Linked DNA regions of Homo sapiens: all the other regions are linked to region 4. Evidence: promoter capture Hi-C in 16 types of primary human blood cells and fetal thymus (Javierre and others, 2016). All regions are on one chromosome and are shown on one strand. The core of a region is centred on a gene start or on the middle of the fragment in contact, and the rest is flanking DNA. Distances in the headings are between cores, read along the strand shown.

The links. Contacts are between HindIII fragments. The CHiCAGO score rates a contact against its expected background, and 5 or more counts as called.
Region 1: a contact is called between a fragment that was not itself captured here and the fragment with the promoter of ATP1A1 in region 4, in 1 of 17 cell types (activated CD4 T cells). The highest score is 6.6, in activated CD4 T cells.
Region 2: a fragment that was not itself captured here is called in contact with the fragment with the promoter of ATP1A1 in region 4 in 2 of 17 cell types (activated CD4 T cells and naive B cells); the score reaches 5.8 in activated CD4 T cells.
Region 3: a fragment that was not itself captured here is called in contact with the fragment with the promoter of ATP1A1 in region 4 in 2 of 17 cell types (activated CD4 T cells and non-activated CD4 T cells); the score reaches 6.6 in activated CD4 T cells.
Region 5: a contact is called between a fragment that was not itself captured here and the fragment with the promoter of ATP1A1 in region 4, in 1 of 17 cell types (fetal thymus). The highest score is 5.2, in fetal thymus.

The regions. Positions count from the first base shown.
Region 1 is chr1:117,091,771-117,094,510 of GRCh38, reverse strand. TTF2 (transcription termination factor 2) reads right to left here. Exons shown (of 23, transcript NM_003594.4): 17 at 2,561-2,694; 18 at 1,610-1,780. Among named protein-coding and RNA genes, the nearest start is that of MIR942, 1.5 kb to the left of the region's middle. The HindIII fragment of the contact is 177 bases long and covers 1,278-1,454 here.
Region 2 is chr1:117,072,746-117,075,445 of GRCh38, reverse strand. TTF2 (transcription termination factor 2) reads right to left here. Exons shown (of 23, transcript NM_003594.4): 4 at 1,719-1,785; 5 at 1-576. Among named protein-coding and RNA genes, the nearest start is that of TTF2, 14 kb to the right of the region's middle. The HindIII fragment of the contact is 827 bases long and covers 1,022-1,848 here.
Region 3 is chr1:117,008,166-117,010,932 of GRCh38, reverse strand. It overlaps CD101 (CD101 molecule), which reads right to left. Exons shown (of 10, transcript NM_001256106.3): 2 at 703-1,083. Among named protein-coding and RNA genes, the nearest start is that of CD101, 7.8 kb to the right of the region's middle. The HindIII fragment of the contact is 3,067 bases long and covers 1-2,767 here.
Region 4 is chr1:116,371,840-116,374,668 of GRCh38, reverse strand. ATP1A1 (ATPase Na+/K+ transporting subunit alpha 1) reads right to left here and starts at 1,425. Exons shown (of 23, transcript NM_000701.8): 1 at 1,146-1,425. The coding sequence starts at 1,157. RefSeq lists an enhancer at 49-168 and silencers at 539-838, 1,269-1,798. The HindIII fragment of the contact is 4,966 bases long and covers 1-2,829 here.
Region 5 is chr1:115,643,763-115,646,462 of GRCh38, reverse strand. The region is part of intron 1 of VANGL1 (VANGL planar cell polarity protein 1); the gene reads right to left. Among named protein-coding and RNA genes, the nearest start is that of VANGL1, 3.1 kb to the right of the region's middle. The HindIII fragment of the contact is 4,549 bases long and covers 1-2,700 here.

The sequences.
Region 1 (2,740 bases), core at 117-2,616, 720 kb before region 4:
ACCCTTAGGGTGCACTTGAGTCCACAGGGGAGCTGTCAGTAAGAACACGTGGGGCATGACTTTGGAGTGCAGCTGGGCTCATTCTTCCCAGCTGCTCATGTGAAAAACCTTTCAAGAGCCTCTAAGGGCCCCAGAGTTCACCCCCAGAATGCTGGAGAAGGAAGAAAACTGGGCTGTAAGTCAATCAGGAGACAAATATACAGAAGTTCTTCCTCTGTCCTCATATGGCTGGACCACTTTGGGACTCAGATTCCTCATCAGTGAAAAGAAGGACTTAGGCCAGATAAATTCTGAGGTGCCCTGAGCTCCCACATTCTAGGATGTCATTACAGTGGTCACCACATGGGGCTGCTTTCCAATCTTAACAAACATTCTGGTGCCTAGGCAGGAAGTGAGTCACAGAACTGTACCATTCAAATTAGCAGACAGAAAAGCAGCTACATCTGTTATTTAGTTAACAATAGAACAGAGACACTGATGTGCCTGGTGTCTTGGCAACTTGAGATTGTGGAAGGCGCTGTGACTCCCACATGAAAAAGCTAGCCATGGTGTTTTGAGAAAACTGCAGCAGGAGGGCTGGATTTATGGCCCACGAGCCGGGGTCAAATTCCAGTAAGAAGCCTCCTTCCCTACTTGAAACAACCGTATGTGGTTTGAACTATTAATGGACATATGTTAAGAAAACTTGTGAATAAATATTACCTGCATTTAATTAAACAAGGAACACAAATGATTAGGAATTTAAATTTTAGCCCAATAGCTCACTCTGAAGGCACTAGCATGTGTGTTCTGGCCACATGGGATGCTCTTCTTATGTTTCTCTCAGCTATCAGTGGTAAAGACCTAGGTAAATGTTTTCAAATTTTAATTAAAAGGCAGCATTCCTTTTAAAAAATAATGCCATTCCCCTGGAAGTGACCTTTCTAGTTATTAATACACTTTTTCAAAAAAAGCCTTTGAAGAGAGGTTGAGCCCAAGAACGGCAGCTTGAGATGCTAAGAGAGAAACAAGCCTCACTTTCAAGACAGGCAGGATGATGAAGCACATTCCGAGCCAGCAGACAGGCAGGATTCAGGTTACGGCATATCTAAGCCTTCCTCCAGCAGAATGTTTCTGCCTTAAAAAGCTCTGACGAAAACAGAGCAGAATGACTAATGAAGACAGAAGGCTATGTAGGAAACACTACTCACATGTGGAAGCCTTTCAAAGTCAGAGCAATTGGCGCTCGCATGTATGACACAGTCTCTAGAGTCAAGCCTTTGTTTTCCTTTTAAGCTTTCTCTAAACAAATTGCTCACTTGCATAGGCCCCGTCCCTAGCACAAACCTGGCAAGCTCCCCAGTGACCCATGACAGAAAACCCACTTCAGTGCAATGCTGGGGTTGTCCCAAATTACTCTCTCAAAGTCCCCTATGTAGTAAGGCTTTAGTGTTATCTGTGAAATAAATGAAGCTTTAAGACTGGAGGGAGAATCTGATCAGCTAGAATTTAACGGCTCTAGCTCTGCTGGCAAATGGCTGTTCCCACTTGGACAAATGAAGTGCTGTCACACAGGAAAATGTGTGAGGAATCGAAGTCTCTCGACTACTACAGAGGAGACAAAAAGTACCTTGGTGCTCTCTCGCATGCCTTCAAAAAGCTCCATCTTGAAGAAGGTGCCGTTAAGGGAAACAGTGGAAGATGGCTCTGAGTCACGGAGTTCTGACAAGGTCAAAGCACTGAGCTGTTCTTCCAGGGAAAGGACAAGACCTTCACCCTTCAGTTCCATTGGATCCAGGGCCTGAACAGACAAAAAAGGACAGGAGCAGCTGGGAGTCAAGGGAGCAAACCTTGTTACTTGTTGATGATGTTTTGATTGTTTACCACTTCACAGAGCAAAATATCTTGTAATTTGTCATCAGTAACTCCTCAAGACACCTTGATTAAAGTGTGATCTTGCAAGTTTTTTCACCACATTAAAGATAAACCAAATGATGGAACTTTTTAAAGACTTGCCAGGCAGATGACATAATCATTCTATTTTTTCCAAGCTAGAATATAATTGAGATGTTGATAATCAGAATACATTATTACAGCTCCTTAAATGAATAGAATACTCCTCTTAATTTTGGATGTGCCTCTATCCAAGGTAGGGGCAACTTTTCAGTCTGTATAACTATCTGAGTTTTTATAACTGGAACCCAAAACCCCAAAACTGCCTGAAAGCAGAAAACCCCAAGAACTAAATTAGCTTTATGACATTCTGAAGTACCAGAGCATTCACAAATGGCTTCTTTTTAAACAAAATATCATTTTCTTTTCTTAAACAGTTAATCTAAAACAAAATAAACAATAGAAATACACTATTCTTGATGCCATAGGAATTATCAAGATTAATATGAAATAAAGCAAAATAAATAAGCCCCCTTTTCTCCAACCCACCAAAAAACAAAAATAGAAAAACCGAAACAGCATTTCCTTTGATCAAGCAGACTGGATTCCAGTTGGAGGAGAGTGAAATTGACTTCTCAGGTGGCCCCTCTGGAGCACTATATGACAGCAGGCTGAGGGCTTTTCTTACCGACTTCAGTAAAGAAAGATGACAGCAACACTGGCGGAGTCTCAGCAACTGGGACAGTATGTGGACGGTGCTGGATCTCGGTGAGTCTGCTGCCTCCGAGTGTCTAGGCTCCTCAGACCCAAACTCCAGTGCCACTTCCAAGAGGGAAGACAAGCCACAGGATGGTACAGGATTTAAAAG
Region 2 (2,700 bases), core at 186-2,685, 700 kb before region 4:
GTTCGTGTACTCCTTGTTGAGGGGTCCCCCTTTCTGGGGCTTGCTTATTGAGTTGTGACTGTGAACATTTTGAGGCAAAAGCTGGGTAACCTTTTCTCTCAGAGGTTCTGATTCTCTTTGGACATCTTGACTCTTACCACTTGATTTCTCCTGAGAAGATGCAGATGGTCTTGTAAGCTCATTACCTTGGCACTGTTGAGATTTAATTTCAGAAAAGTCTCTTTTGTGTGTGCCTCCAGTCTCTGCCTCACACTGAATCTCTGCTCCCTCTTCTTGCTTCTTCTCTTGAACTACAGATTGTTTTTTCTTTGGTACCAGGCCAGATGAGAGGTCTTTCTCCATCATTTCAGGCTTCTGTTCTTTCTTTTGATCGAAAAGCTGATCTCCCTTTTCTCTTTGCTTCTTATCAGCCTTCTTTTCCTCACCTTCACCTTTGATGAGCTGTTTCCAGAGAGCTGGTTCTTGATTCTTGTCAAGTACCTTGAATGGATTTCTCAGCCAGTTGGAAGAATGATGAAATGTCTCAGATGCATGCTGAGACTTATTGGATACAGAATGTTCTTTGGAATCAGGATCCTAAAGACAAAATAATTAATCTTCATATAAAATATTAATACAAACTTCGTATCTAGAATGCCTTTCCTTTTCATCTCAACTTTTATTTTATATACAGGGGGTACATATGCAGCTTTGTTATATGAGTATATTGCACTCAGGCAGTGAGCATAGTGCCCAATAGATAGTTTCTTAACCCATGCCCTCCTCCCCTCTCCAGTAGTTCACAGTATCTATTGTTCCCATGTTTATGGGTGCTCAATGTTTAGCTCCTGCTCGTGAGAACATATGATATTTGGTTTTCTGTTCCTGCATTAATTCACTTAGGATTATTCTGCAGAAGAAATGGAAACACAGTAAAAGCAGTCCAATATTTCCTGAACATTCTTGGTACCATTTCCACGTCTAGAAAAGATGACGTGCCAAACCCACAAAGGACTCATTTCTTCACGATACTTTCGAAGCTTGGTTCCTTCTCTGTCCATGATCACTCTTTTCCAGGCCTCAAGGAAAAGTAGTGACAAACCAAAGTGCTTTTACAATCACAATGGCCACAGTGTATACTTTTCAGGAAAAAAACTATTCTCTTAAGATGAACTTTTCCCCAAACCTAAACATTGTCTTAAAACACTTGCTTTGATTTTGGCTTTAGGAGGATTTTACTGTGGTAATCTAGAATCGTAAGTTCAAGCCACACCTCTGCCAAAACAAGTCTTATCACCTCCCTACTTCTAGTTCCTCACGTACTGAATATCTGTAGGGCTTCTCCTATTAGGAGATGCTCCTCCTAGTTCTAACATACTAGGAGCTTATGCTTATACTTAGCTTATACCAGTATCAAGTAGAAATTCCTCTATAAAAAGATACAAGAGTTAGTCAAGGAAATCTATTTTTTTCCTTGAGTAAAAGAATACTGACTACATTTAAGACCTCAAAAAATATTTACTAAGTGAAATAGGATGCAAATAATTAATCTTGATTACGACTAAATGATCCTTTGAATAAAAGTCCCAACAGGGCCTACCTTGCTTAAAGAAAACTATCTTTCGGAGACAGTCTGATGAAGACCAACTCATTTACGTGAACTTCAAGGTATTTTCAGGTGATGCTGCATATTAAAAGTCTTAACACAGCAGGTTTGAAAACAGATGAATAATTCCTACCTGCCATGGAATACTTCCACACCAGCGTTTCCCCTCTGCCTTACTTCTAATGCATCGGAAGAACAATCTAATGAAGTATAAAACACAAATAATCAAGGCTATGAAAATCCATTAGAACAAGAGATAAGCTTATTTTTAATCCAAGAAAACATCTTGCAACTATTTGAACCTGGCTTTGGGAGGTCACTTGAAACCAATTACTTTTATATACACATTTAAAAATTATTTACTGCACAGAACATTTATAAGGGCTAGGAAGTCCAAGAATAAATATGGCATGGTAGCCAGAGAATGCACACAGGTTTATTCTTTTTAGTCTGTAACGAATGACTGAAATAGAAACACTGATCAGCAATGGCTACTAAAATCAGAGAAATGAGAGACAGCCAGACACTGTGTGTCCCTGAAGGGGGGTCACAACACTAGCTACAAAGCAATGTTGCCCCAAAAAAAACCCCAAAACAACGAAGCCAAAACAAACAAAAAACTAACCTCTAGATCCAATTACCAATTTATAGGAAATAGAAACAACAGAAGAAGGCGTAAAACTATACTGTGGAGAATATAACCTTCAAAATCTTGGCAGTGGGAAACGCTATAGGACAAACAACCTGATCCCTTCCACAAATAAGTTACGAGGGAGAAAAAAAGATGAAGGGAAAACTTCAGAGACTTAAAAGACATATTAATCAATTCCAATTTGTGAACCTTATTTGGATCCTGATTTAAACAAATTAAAACTACTAAAAAAAAACTATGACATTTATGAGTCCACTGAAAATATGTAAACCAACTGGTATGTTAAAAGAGTGCAGCTGGATGCAGTGGCACACACCTATAGTCCCCTCTACTCAGGGGCCTGAGACAGGAGGATCATTTGAGGCCAGAGGCTGCAATGTGCTAAGATTGTGCCTGTGAATAGCCACTGCACTCAAACCTGGGCAACACAGCAAGACTCCCTTCTCTAAAACATACAAATATT
Region 3 (2,767 bases), core at 220-2,719, 640 kb before region 4:
TGAGTAGAAGCTGAGGATGTGGTGGGAAAGAGGCATACAAATAGCCAATTACCATGTAACTGGATACATGCTGAGAGCAGTGGTATGAACAATCTAAAGGAAACAAAAGTGGGAATTCTGCCCAAGCAGTCAAGATGAGTTCCACAGAAGAGGTAATATCTAAACTGGGTCCTGAAGTATATGTAGGAGTTTGTTAAGCTGAAAAGGGGGTGATAGATATTCCAGACAAAGGGACAAAGTGACAATTGCAAGGACTATCACCCTTTCCCAATGTGTAAATATGCTAGAGAATGGTAGTTTGAGAATTATCATTTCTAAGTTAATGACTTATCACCTATGGTACCAGCTTTCTTGTCAAATTACTGTTCTGCCTGCAAGCAGAGACAACACAGGGAGAACTCTCACAGCTTTGTTGAATGCTGTTGCTACTAGCAACCTATGGAGAGCTGCGGACAAGGCCTTGGGAAAACCACACACCATCTAAATATTTATGGCAAAGATAATTGAGAAAAAGAAACAGATAATTTTAGAGAATATGAGATACCCACTTGTGACATATCTCCAAAATATCCACAGGGGTACATGGGCTCTTTTCCCAAAGAAAATGGAACAATATAAAGCCATGTCATATTGCAAGATATTGTCATGGTGGAGACTCTGGCTTCTCAGGGGCTGGCTAGCAGAAGTGGACAAGCAACTTACCAATTAGATTAGTCTTTGCACTGTAACTTCCATAGTATTTCTCATCAGTGTTTGGTGTGTGACACTCATACTCGCCAGCATCCTTCATCTGGAGTTTTGAGATGTGCAACAAGACTGAGTTGCCCTGGACCCTCTCCACGTAGACGTCTCCGCTTCGCACCCGCTGCGTATATACTGCGTAAGAGAAGGCAGCATCCTTGGTGCTAATGATCTGGACTTCCTGGGTCGGGTTTGTCGGCAGGTAAACAGACCACTGGAAATGCTGCTCAGAAGGTCCCTGGTGGCCAGTTACATTGCAGCCAATGCTGACTGGGTAACCTTCAGCTCTAAACAGTGGTCCTTTCTGAACTGTTACTTCTCTCTGGCCAATGCTGAGCTTAGCTTGTAAGTAGGAGAAAGAAAGGGGAATAAAAAGAGATTAGTGTTCCAGTTCCCAGTGTACCACGTTATGTATTTCCCTGTATTACAATTCTGGTAAATGAGATCGCAAGTTATTAGCTATAATTGACTCAAATGTTCAACATCTTCTTCAGGCTGAGCAGCAGTGGAATTGCTTGATGAGTTAATTGTTCTTTTATAACTTTAACTTCCATAGTAATCTTCAGTCTCTTAAAAAAATTTAGCTTCATCAATGTAACACGACCACTTCTATAAAACATCTGCTTATCGAAGTGTACTTATTTTAAAGCAAATAAATGTATGGTAACTTTACATTATTTTCTGAGAAAATTTGGCATATACTTCCTCAAGTCTCAAATTCCAGGGTGCCTGCCATCGGGCAGTTCCCAGAGAAGTAGTTGCTGGAGACGCAAAGTCTAGGGCTCTGCCCTTGGTGCCATGATTTTTCTAGCTGGTTGGTTGGAACTATCTGTAGCTCCTAGCCAGGTCTGTTGCAAGACTAGCCAACATTAGCATCTGACGAGGCAGCAGCACTTCCTTTCTATTCTGTGGAGGTTTTTTTGGTTTTGTTTTGTCATTTCTTAAAGAGCCACTATAGCTTTACTGAAAAGCCTCCTAATAGATGGCTAGAAAATCCAGCAGGTTCTGGGATTAGAATTTATTTTAGCTTTTTTCTTACCAAAAGTTTTCCATTGGGACCACTAGGGAATGTTTTCTATTAGAACAAATCTGAAGTATTAGGTCTAAAGGAAAAAGCATGATTAAATGGTAATATTTCATTTGACAAATTTTTTAAATCAAGCATTTTTCAGAAATCAAAAAGCATATCTTTACTTACTATGATTGATATTAAAGGCTAGTTCATTTTGTGTTGCAGAAAGAACAAAGACATGCCACAAGAGTGGTCAGTTCTTCCACTAGGGGCCCAGGGTACTGTAAAAGGGAAGACAGGGTTGGAAGACACCAGAAGGGCCAGACAGGGAGAGATTGCTGGCCTTATGGAGTTAACCGAACAGAGTTCATACGAAGATGAGTAAGAAGCAGAGCCTCTGCTGCATTTTGTGACTCCACAGGGACAAAGAGTAAGGAGACCAGAGTGGAAAAAAAAAGTGAGGGAAAGGAAAAAGGACATTACAGAGAACATGATAAGGCTGAGTATAGGAATCTGGGATGAAATGAAAATAATTCTAAGGGATAGGAGGGAACTACAAAAAAGGGCAAAAGCACAGAAAAGGTAAGTGGTCACCTGATGCAGTCAAGTGCATATATTTCATATATGTATGTTCAGTCTAAAACTGGGAAACCAACCAATGCCCAACCAACTAGTCAGCCAACCACACACATTTCTAGTAATAATTTTTTTTTTTTTGACACGGTCTTGCTCTGTCACCCAGGCTGGAGTGTTGTGGTGCAATCTTGGCTCACTGCAACCTCTGCCTCCCAGGTTCAAGTGATTCTCTTGCCTCAGCCTCCTGAGTAGCTAGGATTACAGGCATGGGCCACCACGCCTGGATAAGTTTTATATTTTTAGTAGAGACGGGGTTTCACCATGTTGGCCAGGCTGGTCTCGAACTCCTGACCTCAAGTGATCTGCTTGCCTCAGCCTCCCAAAGTGCTGGAATTACAGGTGTGAGCCACTGCGCTCAGCCTCTATAATAATTTAGAA
Region 4 (2,829 bases), core at 176-2,675:
AATTTTTCTCAACTAGACTTTGGCTCATTTGGGGTCCAGGGCCCAGTCTCCTGCACGGGTAATAGCTAGGGGTAATCAAGTCTTCGCTACAGAAATGTAGGACAGCGGCGTTGTGACGATATTCCCACCACGCTCCGCGCCGCTCTCCAGCCCCAAGACCCCTCGTTTCCTTCAGGGACCGCCCTTTGGTGCTTCCGCGACGCTGGAAACCGGCAGAGATTCCTACCACCGTATTGCCTGCAGCCTCCAGTCCTTTTTCGGGTTTCTTGTACCCTGAGGCCCTGGTGGGTCTGCCTATCCTCCTTCAGGGCTCGTCCCTTCAAAAAAAATCTGCACGCCTCTCCCCACCATCGGATGACAACTCCAGTTGCCATCGGTGCATCCTGTGTTTACGGAAAGTGGCCCAAGAAAGCCCTCAAAAGTATACCTTAAAGGCCATCTTAGGGCAGTGAAGACACACCCTTTCTGGCACCAGCCCGCCCAGCCGGCTTCGCACTTAGAAGCAGCCAGTTTTTTCTTTGGGGGAGGGCGGCCGCCTCTGCGCGGAGCAAGCTAAGCCCCAGCGTCCCCAGGAGAAGGAGCCCCGAACCCGGAGGCTGCCCCCGCCGGAACCGGGGCCGCGGCGGGAACGGAGGCCCGGGAGGAGGCCCCGGCGGAGCGCCCCAGGGGAAGGGGAGGAGCGCGCCTTTCCTCAGGGCACGGAGGGCGGAGGGAAAAGGAAGGAGAAGGAGGTGACGGCGGTCGCAGGGAGGGGAGCCAGGCTCAGGGATGCCGGCTCAGTCCCGGGGCCGCCCCCGCTGCTGCAAGCCCCCTCCTCCCGGCCCCGAGGCTTCCCAAGCACCGCCTCTCGGAGCCCCCGGCCCGCTCGGCCTCCGGGGCGCGCAGCCCCCGCCCAGGGTCCGCCCACCCCCCTAAGCAATGCCGCGCTCCAGCCCCTCGGCGCTCCCTTCCCCCGCCCCCCGTTACTGCGCTCCCTCCATTTCCAAACTGCGTCGTCTTTTAAGCCGCGCGGCTCTGCCAGCCCACTCCACGCGGCGCCGCTTCCTCCTCCGCCGCCTCCCGCTGGCCGCGGTCGCCCTCCCGACTTCCTCCTCTTCCCCTCGAGGGCTCCCCGAGCCCCCTCCCCGGGCGCGCCGGACACTCACCCCCTTCCCCATGGTGGCGGTGCTCAGTGCCCGGCGCCGGGTCCTGTCGCTGGAGAATCAGAGAGAAAAGCACAGAGCAGCTCCCGGCCGAGCGAGCGGGACCAGGGGAGCCAAGTGGAGGGAGCTAGGGCTGCCGCGGGGCGGGAGGGTGGGAGGGCGGCCGGCGGCTCGGGCCGATGCCGCCGCCGCTGTTGCTGCCGCCGCCCGGGCTGCTACCGCTGTTGCCACGTGTCCGCCTCCTCCCGCCGCTGCTCTGCGCCCCAGACCCCGCCGCAGCTCCAGCCCGCGCCTCCTCCTCACTTCCTAAAATATGCAACCTGCGTGCTGGCCCCGCCCACGCCGCGAAACGTCACCGTTACCGGAGCAACCTGACACCGGCCGTGGGCCTGGCTCCGCCCCCTCCCGAAACCCCGCCCACGGGCCCGGACAGCGCCTGCTGCGGCCAGTCCTGGCTCCCGGCAGGAGGGCGCCCAGGTCTGGGACAAGCGTGTCCACCGTGTCCCGGGAGGGCTGCGGGGCGCTCCTGCTGGCTGAACAGCGGGGACTCGGCGGCCTTGGCCCTCCCACGCCCCTCCTCCCGCTGCCCTGCATGACCCGCCTACTATGTAGGGCCCAGGAGGTCCGCAGTGGGTGCGGTACGGTCTCGGAACTGGGCTCCCCCAGTCGCCGCCGACCCGGCACCAGAAGTCGTGGGCGGAACGGCTTTTCCAGCGCTTCGGCGATCTCCTCTGGGACTCAGGGATGCTGGAGGGGGCTGGCGCTCGGGTGTGATTGCAGCCAGCGCCTGACTGAGGGACTCCGCCCCTCTGTGGAATCCAGGCCCCGCGCCCACCTGCGGATGGCCTCCCCGGGCGCTTGGTGCTCTCAGAGTGCCTCCTGTGACTTGGGGTCCTCTTTATCCACTTCCCGCTCCGTCATAGCTGGAATCGATCTGAACTGGCATCGCCAGAAGTTTCAAGCGCCCTCCTCCCACCACCTCTCTTTCTTCGAGATTCCAAAATGAGAATCTGAAGGGCGACCAGCGAATTCATTCACGCTATTGTGTGAATGTAACCTGCTTGTCCAGTTTGGGGATTCTCTTTTTAGGGAAGAAAAACCTGAAACCCAAAGGAATGCGTATCCTTAGCTAGAGGAGCTAAATCAAGGGGGAGGCGTTTGAGGACTTGCCAGGTGCCTCTCCACGCCTCCACCTGTCACGGCAGCATCTCCAGCACAGCCTTGGGTTCTCTGGGGGGGCCCAGGAAACCACCACTCTCCCCGGAGATCCCTGGTTCCACTGCACTTTGGGGCTTCTCTGTCATTATAGCTTTTGCTTCTTAGCAAGAGGCTGCAATGGCTGAAGTTCTCCAACATTTTAAAAAACAAAGTATTATTAACAAGGTTTGCAGGAAGTCAAGTACTCTGGGAAAGGCCAGGATATTGACTTTCTAAGCAAAGGTTCCTAAGTTAAAGCCAACTCTATCAACTTCAAGTATTCATGTAGCATGAACAAACAAGGATATGAAACTGGAAAAAATGGAGAAGGAAGGAAAGAAAGGAAAAACTAGAAACTGTGTTGTCAGTTACATCATTAGGGTAATTCTCATCCCTTCTTACAAGATAGTTTCTTACACGAGTCTCTTCTCCTCAAGAATGTATTGTTAAAGGTTGATGTCTCCTACAGTGATCTAGAGACTTGGTTCAA
Region 5 (2,700 bases), core at 56-2,555, 730 kb after region 4:
TCAGGGGCAGAGTTCGTATGCCAGACACACTGAGTAAAAATCAGCAGCAGCCTCTTTCAGCCACTGCCCAAGAGCATCTTGCCTCACCGGTCACCCACCCCTTAAGAGTGTATTGCTTGGCACTGCTTGGGTAGGGGCTGGAGGCAAATATTAGGACACGGCCAGGCTCATTGAACCACATTGCATGCAGGCAAGGTCAACAATGGGAGATAGGTGCACAGAGTGCTTCTAAGTGGCAGTGTCCTAAATTCTGGACTTCCTAGGCAAAAATGTCAGAAAGAACCTCCTTCACCACCCTTTATCAAAAGCAAAATGAAGATAATCAGCCTCAAACAGAATTCTCTCCTAAAGTCATGTTCACTCATATAAAAATCCTACTACTTAATATGAAAACACAGTGTTTAGCAAATCGTATGAAGGAAATAATATGTTATGATAATGACAGTGGTAAACATAAGCTAACCTTCGCAAAAAGGAAATTATAAAAACATCAACAGCTCTGCCTAGAGCTATTAAGTAATTAAGGGAGCTCTGGTTTGGAAAGTTACTTTGTAAGGGTTACAGAGACACGCACTGAATTTAAAGAGAGATTTTGCTTCCTATGCAGTAAGTAGATCTATTTCCAAGGAAAAGTGGTGTCTGGTACAACCATGCTTATATATGCTGTGTATATTATTCTGAATATTTGATTTTTACATAGAATTCTGCAGAGATTATGCTATTAATTATTATTTATATTATGTCTTGAAGCTAACATTCTTCTTAGGGGTACCCATTCTTAATTAAATGGCACTCAAGGGGAAAGTGACAATTGAAATAATTTTGTTTAGAGTCAACTATTCTTCTAGAGAGTAGCAATGAGCCCAAATTGTGGGTGAAGAGCATTCAAATCCTGGCTCTAGTACTTAGCTGTGTGACCTCAGAACAAGTTACTTAACTGCTCTCTGCCTCAGTTTCCCTAACTGTAACAACAGATTTTATTTTACTTATATTATAGATCTGTGGTAGGTATTAAATGAGATAATTCATAAAAATTATTAGAACAGTGCCTAGCACGTGGTAGGCACTCACAGCTGTCAACTACTACTAGTATTCACTAGAGTAAAATTCCTTCAGTTAGGAAGAACTGAAGGGGTTGTATGGCATATAACTTCTGTATCATTTTCACTGAACTTATACACATTTTTCTGGTCTCTGCTACCACCTTTAACTGCTACTATTAGCTATAGCTGAGTAACAAGTGATTTCTATTCTGTTTCTTACAGGCCTCTATTTACCATCCCCAGGTTGGAAGCAAATGTCAGAGAGACCAGAGGAAACCGTGTGTGTTTTAGTGGGTTTATTTGGAGGGGCATGGGCTGGAAAGGAGCGGGCAGAGATGCAGGGCAAATCTATAAAACATTTTGAACTTGTGGCCTATAAACCACCAAACATCATGCAGGTCACTGATGTGAGGATCTGCTGGGCTTATGGCATTTGTGACAAACCCAATGATTCTTTTATTACAACAGCTTATAAATGAATGATTCTGGGTCATTATTTACAAGGAAAGAAAATGTCAACTTTGTTTTACTTGTTTCGCCAATGATTTCAACTCACCTTGCCAGAATAACTTCTCTTGGCTCCAGTCATTAATTACCCCTGAAACACCTCCAGCAGCTGGGTACAGATTTCTGAAGAGGTGTGAATCGTTAACATGTCTGGAGTTATGTGATGTATATTTGCTTGCAAGTGACTCCCTTGTTCCCTGCCAGATATTTAAACTTCAGAAAAATAGATCTCATGAGTACTATCTCCTCTGTAAATCTGATGGTACAGAGTCTGATCACTGTTGTCCTGTAACTGGGATTCAGAAGGACACTGCTAGAGACAACAGCACACACATGTATCCTTGCATCAAACTTCAATACTGCTAACATCAAACCAATACTGCTAACACCAAACCAATATTGCTAACAGAAACATGGTCCAATCACAAGCCCACCTAATCTTTTCCATCTTAAGGAAAATAGAATAGCATGATGCCCAAATCACATGCCCTATACAGCGAGACCCTAACCAGCTAGCTGATTTTACAGAGATGATGGTAATAGTCTAACAGTTTCTAGTTGTCAAGTGTTTACTATGTGTTAGATGCTGTTTTAAGTCACTTACATGTAATATCTCACTTAATCCGCATAACAAGTGTTTAAGAAAAATAAGACATTAATATCATGTTAGTTAGGGAAACCAGACTGCCACAGGAGCCAGGGCTTAAACGTTGAGAGTCTAACTCCAGAACCTGTGTTCTTAGCTACAGAAAATTGACAGCACTGTAGCAATTACTAGAATTGTTTGTTTATATAGAGGAGTATAAGCAACAATCACAAATTGTCCCAAACCACATATAACCCCACTAAGAATTTTGCAATTTCAACTTCTACTCACAGGTTCAGTGTTCCAAGCATCGTGGGGCACTCAGGAGAAAAGAAATGGATCTAAAATAGTTCTAACTCCCAATGAGCTCACAGCCCCAATGTGGAGACCTCCAATTAAAACACAATGTGACAAGGGCCCATCCCACCAAAATAGCTGATAAGGCCTAGGGTAGCAAGCACAGTGTGTGTATATAAGTGTGTTAAGGGGATGATGAAGGGGAGGATGCCTTCTTCATTCAACACATTTATCCTTCAAACAAAGGGTGACATGGAATTGTTGCTT